Linked DNA regions of Homo sapiens: all the other regions are linked to region 3. The links are contacts of gene promoters, found by promoter capture Hi-C in blood cells and fetal thymus (Javierre and others, 2016). All regions are on one chromosome and are shown on one strand. Each heading gives the region's core, a stretch centred on a gene start or on the middle of the fragment in contact. The rest is flanking DNA. Distances are from core to core; before and after follow the strand shown.

What was found. The method cuts DNA at HindIII sites, captures the fragments that hold promoters and counts their contacts. A CHiCAGO score of 5 or more calls a contact.
Region 1: a fragment that was not itself captured here is called in contact with the fragment with the promoter of ZKSCAN1 in region 3 in 3 of 17 cell types (erythroblasts, M2 macrophages and M1 macrophages); the score reaches 6.1 in erythroblasts.
Region 2: a contact is called between a fragment that was not itself captured here and the fragment with the promoter of ZKSCAN1 in region 3, in 2 of 17 cell types (M2 macrophages and erythroblasts). The highest score is 5.6, in M2 macrophages.
Region 4: a fragment that was not itself captured here is called in contact with the fragment with the promoter of ZKSCAN1 in region 3 in 1 of 17 cell types (non-activated CD4 T cells); the score reaches 5.3 in non-activated CD4 T cells.
Region 5: a contact is called between a fragment that was not itself captured here and the fragment with the promoter of ZKSCAN1 in region 3, in 3 of 17 cell types (M1 macrophages, erythroblasts and megakaryocytes). The highest score is 5.9, in M1 macrophages.

Annotation. Positions count from the first base shown.
Region 1 is chr7:99,523,212-99,525,911 of GRCh38, reverse strand. It overlaps ZKSCAN5 (zinc finger with KRAB and SCAN domains 5), which reads right to left. Exons shown (of 7, transcript NM_145102.4): 6 at 1-99. Among named protein-coding and RNA genes, the nearest start is that of ZKSCAN5, 20 kb to the right of the region's middle. The HindIII fragment of the contact is 5,817 bases long and covers 1-2,700 here.
Region 2 is chr7:99,547,947-99,550,646 of GRCh38, reverse strand. FAM200A (family with sequence similarity 200 member A) reads left to right here. Exons shown (of 2, transcript NM_145111.4): 2 at 2,141-2,700. The coding sequence starts at 2,240. Among named protein-coding and RNA genes, the nearest start is that of FAM200A, 2.8 kb to the left of the region's middle. The HindIII fragment of the contact is 3,322 bases long and covers 1-2,700 here.
Region 3 is chr7:100,014,205-100,016,904 of GRCh38, reverse strand. ZKSCAN1 (zinc finger with KRAB and SCAN domains 1) reads right to left here and starts at 1,309. Exons shown (of 6, transcript NM_003439.4): 1 at 1,179-1,309. RefSeq lists a silencer at 1,054-1,223. The HindIII fragment of the contact is 19,683 bases long and covers 1-2,700 here.
Region 4 is chr7:100,346,529-100,349,228 of GRCh38, reverse strand. All of the region lies in intron 4 of STAG3L5P-PVRIG2P-PILRB (STAG3L5P-PVRIG2P-PILRB readthrough), which reads right to left. Among named protein-coding and RNA genes, the nearest start is that of MIR6840, 8.8 kb to the left of the region's middle. The HindIII fragment of the contact is 213 bases long and covers 1,318-1,530 here.
Region 5 is chr7:99,630,377-99,633,076 of GRCh38, reverse strand. It overlaps ZSCAN25 (zinc finger and SCAN domain containing 25), which reads right to left. Exons shown (of 8, transcript NM_145115.3): 8 at 669-2,700. Among named protein-coding and RNA genes, the nearest start is that of ZSCAN25, 15 kb to the right of the region's middle. RefSeq lists an enhancer at 2,594-2,700. The HindIII fragment of the contact is 710 bases long and covers 959-1,668 here.

The DNA.
Region 1 (2,700 bases), core at 188-2,687, 490 kb after region 3:
GAACGCTCCTTTCGGTGTGTTCTGGCGCCACCCAGTGTGATTCAGAGTCATCAGAAATCTGCTTCACTATGAGCTCCATATTGTCCCTGGACTCATAACCTGAAATAACAGAGGGAGAATTAAAAAATGAGCTTTTCCTTGAATTTGAAGAAATAAAATGAGGGGATAATGAAGAGAAACTGACATGTGCTAGGGATCCATGATTCTGTAAAGGGACTTTTACAGTACAGGGATGGGATGAAAAATATTCAAGCAGAAAAGTGAGGGAGGTTAGGGAAGGAAGAGCTGGCAAAAAATGTTCAGAGGAAGGAGACTGAAAATCAGTCATTCCACTGAACGAAGAGGGTCTCCTCTCAGTGTGGCACTTACAAATACCTGTATCATGTTAAATGTTCTCTTGTGTGTGTGTGTGTGCGCGCGCGCGTGTATGTGTGTGTTTTGAGACAGGGTCTCACTCTGTCACCCAGGCTGGAGTGCAGTGGGGCAATCATGGCTCACTGCATCCTCAACCTCTTGGGCTCAAGCGATCCTCCCACCTCAGCCTCCCAAGTAGCTAGGACTACAGTTGCACACCACCATGCTCAGCTAATTTTTATATTTTTGTAGAGATGAGGGTCTCATTATGTTGCCCATGCTGGTTTCAAACTCCTGAGCTCAAGTGATCCTCCCACCTCAGCTTCCCAAAGTGCTGGGATTACAGACGTGAGCCAACGCGACTGGGCAATATTCTTTTTTTTTTTTCTTTTGAGACGGAGTCTCACTCTGCCACCCAGGCTGGAGTGCAGTGGCGCGATCTCGGCTGACTGCAACCTCTGCCTCCCGGGTTCAAGTGATTCTTCTGCCTCAGCCTCCCAAGTCACTGGGACTACAGGCGCACATCACCACGCCCAGCTAATTTTTGTAATTTTAGCAGAGACAGGGTGTCACCATATTGGCCAGGTGGTCTCGAACTCCTGACCTAGTGATCTGCCCGCCTCGGCCTCCCAAAGTGCTGGGATTACAGACATGAGCCACCGCGCCCAGTCACGACTGGGCAATATTCTTAATAAAACTGGATAGCAGGTTATGCAGCTAACCCCATCTTCACCTTCCTCTTCCTGTGAATTCATAGCCTAGAAAAGAAAGGTGATCTTTCTAGGTTTCTCAATGCCCAAAGGATTTCAGTTTGGTATGAATTAATCTAAAAGAAAAAAGACATTCTTTCTATATCCTGAGAAGAACCTACTACTTTCAAGAGCTAGGTTAATGTTCAGCAGTCACTGATAGAACCGTGGATGTTTCAGTGGCTATAATTAGTTCCTTTGTTCAACTGTATCAGCAAGATACTTTACTCAAAACACTGATGTTTTAATATGGTTTGCAGAGACAAATCTTCAGTAGTTAACAAAAAATAGAGTATTGGCCAGGCACAGTGGCTCATGCCTGTAATCCCAGCACTTTGGGAAGCCAAGGCGGGCGGTTCACTTGAGGCCAGGAGTTCGAGACCAGCCTGACCAACACAGCGAAACCCCGTCTCTACAAAAAATACAAAAATTATCAGCCGGGTGTGGTGGCTCACGCCTGTAATCCCAGCACTGTGGGAGGTCGAGGTAGGCGGATCACTTGAGGTCAGGAGTTTGAAACCAGCCTGGCCAACATGATGAAAACCTGTCTCTACTAAAAATACGAAAAAAATTAGCCAGGCGTCGTGGCACACACCTGTAATCCCAGCTACTCAGGAGGCTGAGGCACGAGAATCGCTTGAACCCAGGAGGCAGAGGTTGCAGTGAGTTGAGATCACACCACTGCACTCCAGTCTGGGTGACAGAGCGAGACTCTGTCCCAAAAAAAAAAAAAAAAACCCAGGGAGTATCATGGCCTATTAAGAATGTCCCAAGATGTTTTCATGAGGAGAGTTTTCTGTATTATATTAGTAATAAGAGCTAAACATTTGCTGAGTGCTATGAGTCCAGCACTACACTAAGTACTTTACAATTTTATGGTATATTTAATCCTTACAATGACCTTTAAGGGAGCTACCATAATCCTTTTTTGATATAGTCAGAAGTTATAATTCCTAAACTATGAAGACAATTTTAATTTTAATTTACCATATAGCTACTTTTACTTACCTTCCTAAAAAGACACTGAAACAGTAAAAACAGGGATATAAACAAAAAACCCTATCACAAAACCAGACTTTTTATGTTTTTTCCTCCCTCATTTAACTATGCAGCTAATCCCAGCTACCATAGTATTTTTTTTCTCTTTTATTCATATCTACTGGTCTCACACATTGATTGATTGATTGATTGATTGATTGATTTGAGACTGGGTCTTGCTCTGTCACCCAGGCTGGAACACAGCAGCACAATCACAGCTTACTGTTACTTCTAACTCCCTGGTTGAAGCGATCCTCCCACCTCAGCCTCTACAGGCATGCACCACCACGCCTAGCTAATTTTTGTATATTTTGTAAGGGTTTGTCTCACTATGTTGCCCAGGCTGGTCTCGAACTCCTGGCCTCAAGTGATCCTCCTTCCTTGGCCTCCCAAAGTGCTGAGATTACAGGCATGAGTTCCTGCGTTCAGCAGGCAGCCTACTCACTTCCTCCTCCCCTTGTCTCTCAGTGGAGACATGTCTCTCGAGCCAAGGTCAGTCCTTCCTCCTTCCTGTACCCCAGATCTCACCATACCTTCCTGCTTTCCAGGGATCTCCCAA
Region 2 (2,700 bases), core at 70-2,569, 470 kb after region 3:
ATGTTCTTGGATGAAACACATAGACCCACCAAGTCTCAAATGTGTCCTAAGTAAAGTAAAATAGATTATCTCAAGGTCTCTTCCAATTTTGGAATCTGCCGATAGACTGAATTTAACATTCAGCTAAGCAAAACCTATGGCCCCACATTCATTTCCATTTGTGCCACCAACATACAGAAAGTTACTTGCATTATTGAGAGAGGCTAAGTGACACAGTACCAAAGAAAAGGGGTTCGTTGGCCAGGTGCTGTGGCTCAGGCTTGTAATCCCAGCACTTTGGGAGGCCGAGGTGGGTGGATCACGAGGTCAGGAGTTTGAGACTAGCCTGGCCAACACAGTGAAACCCCGTATCTACTAAAAAGACAAAAATTAGCTGGGCCTGGTGTTGGGCGCCTATAATCCCAGCTACTCGGGAGGCTGAGGCGGAAGAATCACTTGAACCCTGGAGGCGGAGGTTGCAGTGAGCTGAGATCGTGCCACTGCAGTCCAGCCTCAGCAACAGAGCTAGACTCCGTCTCAAAAAAAAAAGGGGGGGGTTCATTTAGTAAAGTCAGGTAATAACTTTTTTTAAGTTTTTTTTTATTATTTACTTTTTTTTATTATACTTTAAGTTCTAGGGTACATGTGCACAATGTGCAGGTTAGTTACATATGTATACATGTGCCATGTTGGTGTGCTGCACCCGTTAACTCATCATTTACATTAGGTATATCTCCTAATGCTATCCCTCCCCACTTCCCCCACCCCATGACAGGCCCCACTGTGTGATGTTCCCCACCCTGTGTCCAAGTGTTCTCATTGTTCAGTTCCCACCTGTGAATGAGAACATGCAGTGTTTGGTTTTCTGTCCTTGCGATAGTTTGCTCAGAATGATGGTTTCCAACTTCATCCATGTCCCTACAAAGGACATAAACTCATCCTTTTTTATGGCTGCATAGTATTCCATGGTGTATATGTGCCACATTTTCTTAATCCAGTCTATCATTGATGGATGTTTGGGTTGGTTCCAAGTCTTTGCTATTGTGAATAGTGCCGCAATAAACATACATGTGCATGTGTCTTTATAGCAGCATGATTTATAATCCTTTGGGTATATACCCAGTAATGGGATGGCTGGGTCAAATGGTATTTCTAGTTCTAGATCTTTGAGGAATCGCCACACTGTCTTCCACAGTGGTTGAACTAGTTTACAGTCCCACCAACAACGTAAAAGTATTCCTATTTCTCCACATCCTCTCCGGCACCTGTTGTTTCCTAAGTCAGGTAATATCTTTAAATCCACTAAACTCACATGAATGGTGAAATATTGCAGTGTACTAAAAGCAAACAAACAAATGAGGGTGTTTTGTCAATCGCATGTGTTGTGGAAATCTCATTCTCCCTCCAGAATAATTCATGGATCTATGTAACATGAACATGTTTCAATATTCATAATACTGAATAATTATGCAGCTTAATTTCTTATTTTTAAGAAATACAAGTTCTCATTTTTTTCCCTATGCCCCAGTGGATCATCTTGTGTACCCTATGTACCCTACCTGATGGTTTTTTTTGTTTTTTGTTTTTTGTTTTTTTTTTTTGAGACAGCGTCTTGCTCAGTTGCCCAGGCGTGGTGGCACATGGCCTGTAATTCCAGCTACTTGGGAGGCAGAGGCAGGAGAATCACTTTAACCTGGGAAGTGGAGGTTGCAGTGAGCCGAGATCGTGCCCTTGCACTCCAGCCTGGGCAACAAGAGCGAAACTCCATCTCAAAAAAAAAAAAAAAAAAAAGAATGACCAGATCACTTTTTAGAGTTGGCAGTGTAGCAGCATATTTAGGACACTCGCTTCAGACTTGGATTTGAGTGCTGGTTCTATACTTACTGTGGGTTGTTAGACACATTTAATCTTTCTGAACTTTTATTTTTCATCTGTAATATAAGAATAGTAATTATGTGAACCTCATTAGGTTTCCCTGGGTATTAAATGAGTGGTGTATATAGTACACCAAATCTCCCTGACACACAGCCAACATGAATGACAGTTGCTCATCATTTACCATGTCACACCACTAGATTTAGTGAATTGTTTTGTATGAGTTGTTAGCCCAGCAATACCATGTTGCTTTTTAATACTGCTGTTACGTTTTTCTACCCTGCAGGATAGCAAAACCTGATCTCATAAAACCTAGGTCACAAAGGACAGCCCTGCAAAACAGACCCTATTTGGATCAAGTGAGCCAGTTCCTGGAACCTGAATAATGACTCCTGAATCAAGGGATACTACAGATTTGTCTCCAGGGGGTACCCAGGAGATGGAAGGCATCGTGATAGTGAAGGTGGAGGAGGAAGATGAAGAAGACCATTTTCAAAAGGAAAGAAACAAAGTAGAGTCATCGCCACAAGTTCTCAGTCGCTCTACAACTATGAATGAGAGAGCCTTATTGTCATCGTATTTAGTTGCATATAGAGTGGCAAAAGAGAAAATGGCTCACACAGCGGCTGAAAAAATTATCCTTCCAGCATGTATGGACATGGTACGGACAATTTTTGATGACAAATCAGCTGATAAACTAAGAACTATACCTCTTAGTGATAATACAATATCTCGTCGAATCTGTACGATTGCAAAACATTTGGAAGCAATGCTTATTACACGGCTGCAGTCCGGTATAGACTTTGCAATCCAACTCGATGAGAGCACTGATATTGCAAGTTGTCC
Region 3 (2,700 bases), core at 60-2,559:
CCATGGTTTCCTATGTAAAACAGCGATTTCTCCACATTTGTTCAGCATATATACTAACAGTGCTTTGCTGATGTGGTTACAATGAATTCTCCACAATTCAATTCAACAAGTATTTATTGACCGCCTCCAATCCGCCTAGCACTGGCCCGTACAATAAATGCTTTCTTTGGTCCCAGGCCATGGAACAGCCACTCTCTATAATGAAAGTATCTTACTGTGTACAGGGGGCACTGCAGGAAAGGGAGGGGAGGGATGGAGGAGTGTCAAGCTAAACTGTAGTTAATTCTTCAATTACATTGACCAAATCATTTCGAAGTCGGAAGGGCCTTTTGAGAAAATCCAGTTAGTTTTTATTGATGACGAAATTAAGACTTGGTGAGTGTCTCGTCTTATCCAAGGTCACTCAGCTAATCAGTCTCCTAGTGACACAGTGCAATTTCCACAAATTCCCTTCACTTCTCACCCCACTCCATGTCAAACAGAGCAACTATCCAGAATTGAAAAATCCACCTAACGTCCCGGACAGCTCTTTTCCAAAGCCTTCAAAGCATTCCATCAAGCTGAAAGAGTGGGGTGTATATAATCTCTACTAGATCCCAATCACCTATTTATCCACTATGACTAGGCTTCAAATACTCTTTAATCACCGCTCAGTGATGAGGGTGGGAGAAGGAAAGGCAGGTCTGGAAACGTATGCGGCACCTCAAAATGTGTCCATCTCTCATCCTTCCGCTCATTTCACCTCGAGGTCCCGAAGGAACCGGGGGGGGAAAAAGACACCTCACCGGAATCAAAGCAAATGGCGACTAAGGGAGAGCAGAAAAATCAAGACCGGGGTCGGTTCGCTCGCGACCCCGTTTGCAGAAACGTCAAAGGGCGATGACGACACTGCGGGAGAGGGGCCCACAGACGGCTTCTCCCCGGGTCTCCGGGCACCCTCAGCCACTGAAACCCTCGCCCCCTCCCCGCCTGATCCTGGGGGTGGGGCGGGGACGTCTCCCAGGAAGAACGGCGCTTTCTACGGCCGGGCCCGGCCAGGAGGCAGGGGCATGGACTCTCTTCGCACAACAGCGGGGCCGCCTGGAGGGGGTCCCAGGGCCGCAGCTGCGGAGCCCACCCTCGCGCACACACCCTTGCGGCCCCGCCCTCCCACCCCAGAGGCCGGCCCCAAGTCTCACCGTGAGCCCCGGGAGCGGCCTGGGGGCGCTGGGCGAGAAAGGGGAGCTGACTCTGGGGCTCAGGCCGGCCGAAGGGCACCGCACACGGACTTAGGCCCTCCCGACGCCTCGACACAGACACAATGAGTCACAAAGGCCGGAAGCGTGTCACCACCTCGTCTTCCGGGACCGCGCCGCGCTTCCGGGTCCTCTCTAGGAGCGCGGGAGGACTTTGCATCTCGGTTTCCGAATCGCTGGACCAGGCGCCTGCCCTTGAGTTTTCAAGCCTCCAGCTTGGAGGATCAGGTCCCAGTCCGCCCCTAGTTAATGCAGGGACTAACGGGAGCAGGTGGTGGGGGGTTTCAGGCTTTCCCCTACTCAAACTCAAACAGACTCTCCAGCTCAGACACCAGTCCATGTGAAAGTTCGATTTCACCTGTCTTTTTCATCTCAGGCAGTCCTTGTAGTAATTATAGTTATTATCAAGCAATATAGTACTTGGTAATTGTATGTCTGTGGCAAAGGAACTGAAACAAGGATGTAGACTGAGGAAGATCAAAGTGAAGCCAAGGGTGGCTGGTTTCCCAAAGCTGCCACGGTAGCTTCTCTCAGGGCCCTGGAGCTATATGGAGTGGTATTTTCAAATACTTGGCCCGTGGACAAGGGATGTCTTTCCACAAGCAAGCATAGTTATAAGGTTCTGTGCTTTGCTCATGTGGCATATGCTATTATAGCCGTTTAAAAGGAGTTTTCAGAGTAACAACAGACACTTTTACCTTCAAAGTGCTTTCACAACCTACCACAGTTACAGCCTTCATCTTTGCCTTGCAGGGTAAGGCACGCATAAGAGGGGGCCACGTTGTGCAAGGGTGGGGGGGACTACAGGCTTTAATGGTTGTGACTTTCCACTATGTTCCGAGACAAGTTCATGGGAGAAACTCAGTAGCTTGGTTGCATGACTCTTACTGCTTGGAGAGATTTACTTTTTTTTTTTAGATGGAGTCTCGCTCTGTCACCCAGCCTGCAGTGCAGTGGCACCATCTTGGCTCACTGCAACCTCCACCTCCCAGGTTCAAGCGATTCTCCTGCCTTAGCCTCCTGAGTACCTGGGACTACAGGCGCACACCACCATGCCTGGTTAATTTTTGTATTTTTGGTAGAGAACAGGGTTTCACCATATTGGCCAGGATGGTCTCGATCTACTGACCTTGTGATCCACCCGCCTCAGCCTCCCAAAGTGCTGGAATTACAGGCGTGAGCCACCGTGCCCGGCCAGATTTACTTTTTAAAAAATGTTTGAAAACTAAAAAGCAATGACAGGGCCAGACACGATGACTCAAGCCTGTAATCTTAGCACTTCGGGAGGCTGGGACGGGAGGATTCTTGAGCCCAAGAGTTGGAGACCAGCCTAAGCAACGTAATGAGACCCTCTCTCTACAAAAAATACTAAAATTAGCTGGGTGCAGGGTAGTGTGTGCCAGTGGTCCCAGCTGCTTGGGAGGCTGAGGTAGAAGGATAGATTGAGCCCAGGAGGTTGAGGCTG
Region 4 (2,700 bases), core at 175-2,674, 330 kb before region 3:
GGGGGCATTTTCACAGGTGGATGCTGAGCCCTGGAGGAAGTGTGTCTTTTATTCACCCCAATATGGGGAGCCCAGAATTTATTGAGGGATTTAAAAGCCATGGTGCAAAGTTGACTACCCACCATTTTCATTTTTTTTTTCAATTTTTTAAGTCACATTATCCCCTAAATTCTCATTGTGTAAGATTCAAACAACATAGAACACAAAGTTCTCCTTTGGCCAGCTCCTTCTGTTCCCCTCCCTGTTTGAATTCTCATGAGGCTTGATCTTTAACATTATCATTTCTGTTTGTGTATTCCTTAGGAAGGCTAAGATTATGAAAATATTTTTATGGCTTTGTTTTTATGCATAACTCTATAAAGAGTTTCTTCCTAGTCCATGAAGAACTTTACTTTGGAGGTGGTGTTAAAAAGGCTGTGTAGGCCGGGCATGGTGGCTCATGCCTGTAATCCCAACACTTTGGGAGGCCGAGGCAGGCAGATCATGAGGTTAGGAGATCGAGACTGTCCTGGCTAACACGATGAAACCCTGTCTCTACTAAAAATACGAAAAAAATTAGCTGGGTGTGGTGGCGGGCGCCTGTAGTCCCAGCTACTCAGGAGGCTGAGGCAGGAGAATGGCGTGAACCCGGGAGGCGGAGCTTGCGGTGAGCAGAGATCGCGCCACTGCACTCCAGCCTGGGTGACAGAGCGAGACTCTGTCTCAAAAAAAGAAAAAAAAAAAGGCTGTGTAGCTGGGTGCAGTGGCTCATGCCTGTAATCCCAGCACTTTGGGAGGCCGAGGCAGGTGGATCACTTGAGGTCAGGAGTTCGAGACCAACCTGACCAACATGGAGAAATCCCATCTCTACTAAATATACAAAATTAGCTGGGTGTGGTGGCGCATGCCTGTAATGCCACCTACTTGGGAGGCTGAGGCAGGAGAACCGCTTAAACCCAGGGGCGGAGGTTGTGGTGAGCCGAGATCCCACCATTGCACTCCAGCCTGGGCACAAGAGCAAAACTCCGTCTCAAAAAAAGAGCCGTGTAACGTCTCAGGTGGAGGGCCAGGATTCCCCAGACCATTTGCTGCTGGGCTCCTTCCCTACTGTTTCAAAATGCCACCTTGATCATAAATTCTTACACATAGGTCTATATGTGGATTCTCTTTCACAGTCTATCCACTGGGTTGCTTATTCTAGTTTCAATATCACAAGGTCCTAACTGGAATGCTTTCATGTTCTGATATATGTGAGGGCCCTTACTCTCACAACTTCTTGAGTATTCCTTAACATTCTCCAAAATTGTGAACAGCAGAGCCACAAATAATTCCTAAGCTTGGCAATCTAAGTCCTGCATCCCACTTTCAGCCAGGAGGTACAGGCAAGATGGGACAGGTTTCACAATGGCCACCTCCTGCCTGACATTCCTTGGTGAAATCCCTGCAGCCCCAGCCCAAGTCCTGCTGAAGTAAAAGAGCCCAGTGGTCAGTCTGTAGAATCAGGCCCTCATGGGTTTGAAATAGGGCCACAATTTCATAGCTCTGCAAGCTTAACAGAGCAATTTCCCAAAGCAGCAGGATCCCAACAGGGACTGCTCCACAGAGTAAATGAGAGGATCAAGTCAGTGAGTGCAGGGGCAGCACTCTACTCAGCCCTGGCTCGTGCCCCAGTACAGGCTGTGACCGTCCTGTGATATAAAACATTCCTCGAGTTTGGTTTCTTCTCACCAGGAATCAGGATTAGCTTTCTTTGTGGCTTGTGTGAAAGATGCGATGACACAAGTTCATCTCTATTACACCTTCCCAGGCAGATCAACTGTATGTCAATGTCCCCTCTTCAGGGGCGGCTGTCTTCCGTCCTAGCACTGCTTCCACTGGAAGAGTCTGAGCTCCTCATCCTAGCCTTGGTTCTGGGCAGCAAACAGCCCAGCCCTGAGCAGCCTCTGTTCTTCTGTAGGCCCATGGGGCCCACTGCAGACAGGAACCCAGGCAGCTGATTCAGATGGCCTCAATTCCTGGGGCCAAAACACAGGGTCCTGGAGGGCCTAGTCTCACCACAGAGAAAGGGAAATGACTATAAAAATCCAAAATATTTTTGACAGAGGACTAGAGGCCTCCTCCCTCCCCTAAATGCTTTGGCACTTGACACAACCTTAGGGAAAAGGAAGGAAGCCAAGAAGACTCAGGAGTTAAATTTTCTCAGCAGCTGGGCAGAAAAAGAGCTTGAAATCATAGAGGAAAAATAAAGTTGTTTCTGCTCTTCTGAGTTTGTAGCATAAGACTTGTCACTGCTGCATTTATTTTTACATGCATGTTTTAAATGTTGTGAAAAGGGCTGCTTTTGTTCCTCTGTAACTTTAATTATAGCTTATCCTTTATCACAGTAATACAGCTAATGCAAGATAGCGTCTTCAGTGGATACTATGTGCTAAACCCATTCTCAGTGATGCACGTACATCAGCTCCATACTTAGCAATTGCTTTATGTGGGAAATAACTTGCCCGGGGTGGAAGGGCTACTTACACAATGAAGCCAAAATTTAAACCCTGACAAAAATTTTCGCTTCAGAACCCATAATATTCAGCATTATGCGGAGCTGCCTTCTCCCACACCTTGGTTAAAAAATTAAATTGAATTACAAGACTGTGTCAGCAAACGGCAGTCCTTTGCCCTGGCAGTGCAGAAGCCAGGAGTTGAACCCGTGTCTCTCACCAGGTTAAG
Region 5 (2,700 bases), core at 64-2,563, 380 kb after region 3:
GACAGGGAGGTTGCGGTGAGCTGAGACTGTGCCACTGCACTCCAGCCTGGGCAACAGAGCGAGACTCCAGCTCAAAAAAAAAAAAAACAACAGAAAATGCAGAATGTAAAAAACTCTCCAGGATAAATGATCGAGTTTTTTAAAATGAATAAATCTCAAGAAGAAAAGGATAAGTACTACAGATTATAAGCCTTAAGAGACAAAGCAACAAATTATATTATATTGAAAAATTAGGTGGGTTCTTAAAATTCACTGGATATTTTGACATTAAGGAACTGTTTTGTTTTGAGACAGGGTCTTGCTCTGTCTCCCAGGCTGGAGTGCAATGGCACAATCAGGGCTCACTGCAACCTCAACCTCTTGGGGTCAAGTGATGCCCAGCCTCAGCCTCCTGAATAGCTGGGACCACAGGCATGCACCACCCATGCCCAGTTAATATTTGTTTGTAGATGAGGTCTCACTATGTTGCTCAGGCTGGTCTCGAACTCCTCTCAAGCAATCCCACCTTGGCCTCCCAAAGTGGTGGGATCACAGGTGTAAGCCACCACACCCAGCCGCCCTTACCTTTTACAGGTACACACTGAAATGGTTATAAACAACACTTGGGATACACTTCGAAACTTCAGTGGGGGAGGAAGACGGGGAGGAAGGAGTGGACAGAGATGAAACAAGATTGATTATGAGTTTATAATAAAGTCAAATGATAAATACATAAGGATTTATTTATATAGGTTTGAAATTATCTATTATAAAAAAATTTCTAAAGAATAGAAAAATACAGAAAACAAAATATTTCTTAACATTTGAATAGATATGAAAAATCAGACTACCACAATCCCATGGGAAAAACCCCCTACTTAGAGGCTTTTCTGAGACACTGTCCTAAGCTCTTGGCCCCACAGGAGATAGGGAAGAGGCCAGATAGGAAAGTCAGCAAGGCCCAGCTCCTTCTGAAGCTTAAGATATGCCAACTTGCTGAAACCCAGAGGAATGCTGGCTGTGTATGACAAAAGAGCATCTGTGATTCAGGTAATGACAAGCAGCCCCCCGAGGCCTCCCCAGTCCCCACCTGCCTTTGGAAAACCACCCTCTGGGGAAGGCCACACTCAGGCCAGAAGCCTCCCACTGAGTCTGCCTGGCTGTCAGCCCTGCCTAGCTGCTCTGATAATTACGGGGGAAAAAAAGCTGATTTTGCATGTGGACCTCAGTATTACAGAGGAGCAGCAGCAGCCCCGTGTGGACATCTCAGATACATTTACGACCCAGTCAGTGCAGCCTCGTGGGCACAGCTAATGAGCCAGGAAGACCAAGGAGCGTCATTTGCTAAGCCAAAATTAGACACCATGCTGCCTAACAAGAACAGGTGATAAAACCACGTTTCAAAGTGGGCTGAGTAATACAGCTTTGTGTTAGTCATTACCATTTACCTTATTTACAATGGAAAATGAAAAAAAAAAATCTCAGTAAAAGAATCTGGTATTAAGAGGCATCAGAAGACAAACCACATTTTGCAATTATAGGACACTATCAACAAAGGACAAACTCACTCACTCAGCCAGGGTTCAAAGGCACAGCACAATGACACAGCAGTCAGTCCACGCTAGTTATGCAGCTTCCAGAACTTTAAACAGAAATGAAACCCTTAAGTGATGGCACAATAAGGAAGCTTCAACAGTTTACAAATATTGCATCTTCTCATTTTTAAAGAAATGTATTTTTTTTTAATGCCTACAAATATCTTTATTTTTCCTGACTTGGCACTCATGCAAAACAGGTCGCTACCAGCTCATCATCCCCAGTGGGTGTCCAGGACCCCTAGTGCCTTGGATGACAAGGGTCTGGAGGGCAGAGACCATTTAGTAACAAGAGGTAGGTGACAAATGCATTTCAGGGCAAGATGCTGACAAAGCAATGAATACAGGCCCAGAGGATTTGCAGGAATATCCACGGGTTCTGAAGATCAGGTACATCCACGAGACATAAGCTCTACGAGGTCAACAGCTTCTCCCCCTATTTTATTCATGGATGTGTCTCAAGCACCCAGAAGAGTTCCTGACATGTTTGTTACAGGGCCTCAATAAATACTTGGGAAATGGGTCCAATGAGAATGGGGTGAAATTAATTTTATGAACTATAAAGTGCCATCAAATATAGGGCATTAATACTAGAGTTCATCTTTCAGACTCATTTTAATTATAACAGTTCTTTCTAGAGAACTGTTTTTTAAAATACTCTGATGTTTATTCAGTGATCAATAGCAAAATACTAACTTCCTAATAGTTGGTGTGTTGACAGTTGTTATAGTGCAAGGAATAATGGACGGGGAAGTTTTACAGATGAGGATAGAATGTTATAGCCTGACACAGATGAGGCTCCAAATAATGTAAAATTCACACAGTTGCCTGGGAGCAGATCCCAGCTGGGGAGGGAAGATCCAGCACGGGGCAGGAGGGCAGGAGTGGTCATGGGAAGATGTTCTCACGGGCACACAGCACAGATACCCTGAGAATGCCTCGGGTCATGGGCTGTCGCATGCATCCCCAACGCACAACCCCCAGAGGCATCACGTCTAGTCTCTCATTCACCACGGCATTCCCACGGCCAGGTGCTCAGAGGATGTTCAATAAATGTTTGTTCAATGGAAAAGAGAGGGGGTGGGGGAAGAGTCTGAGCTATGACCCTGCAGGCAAGACAGAGCCC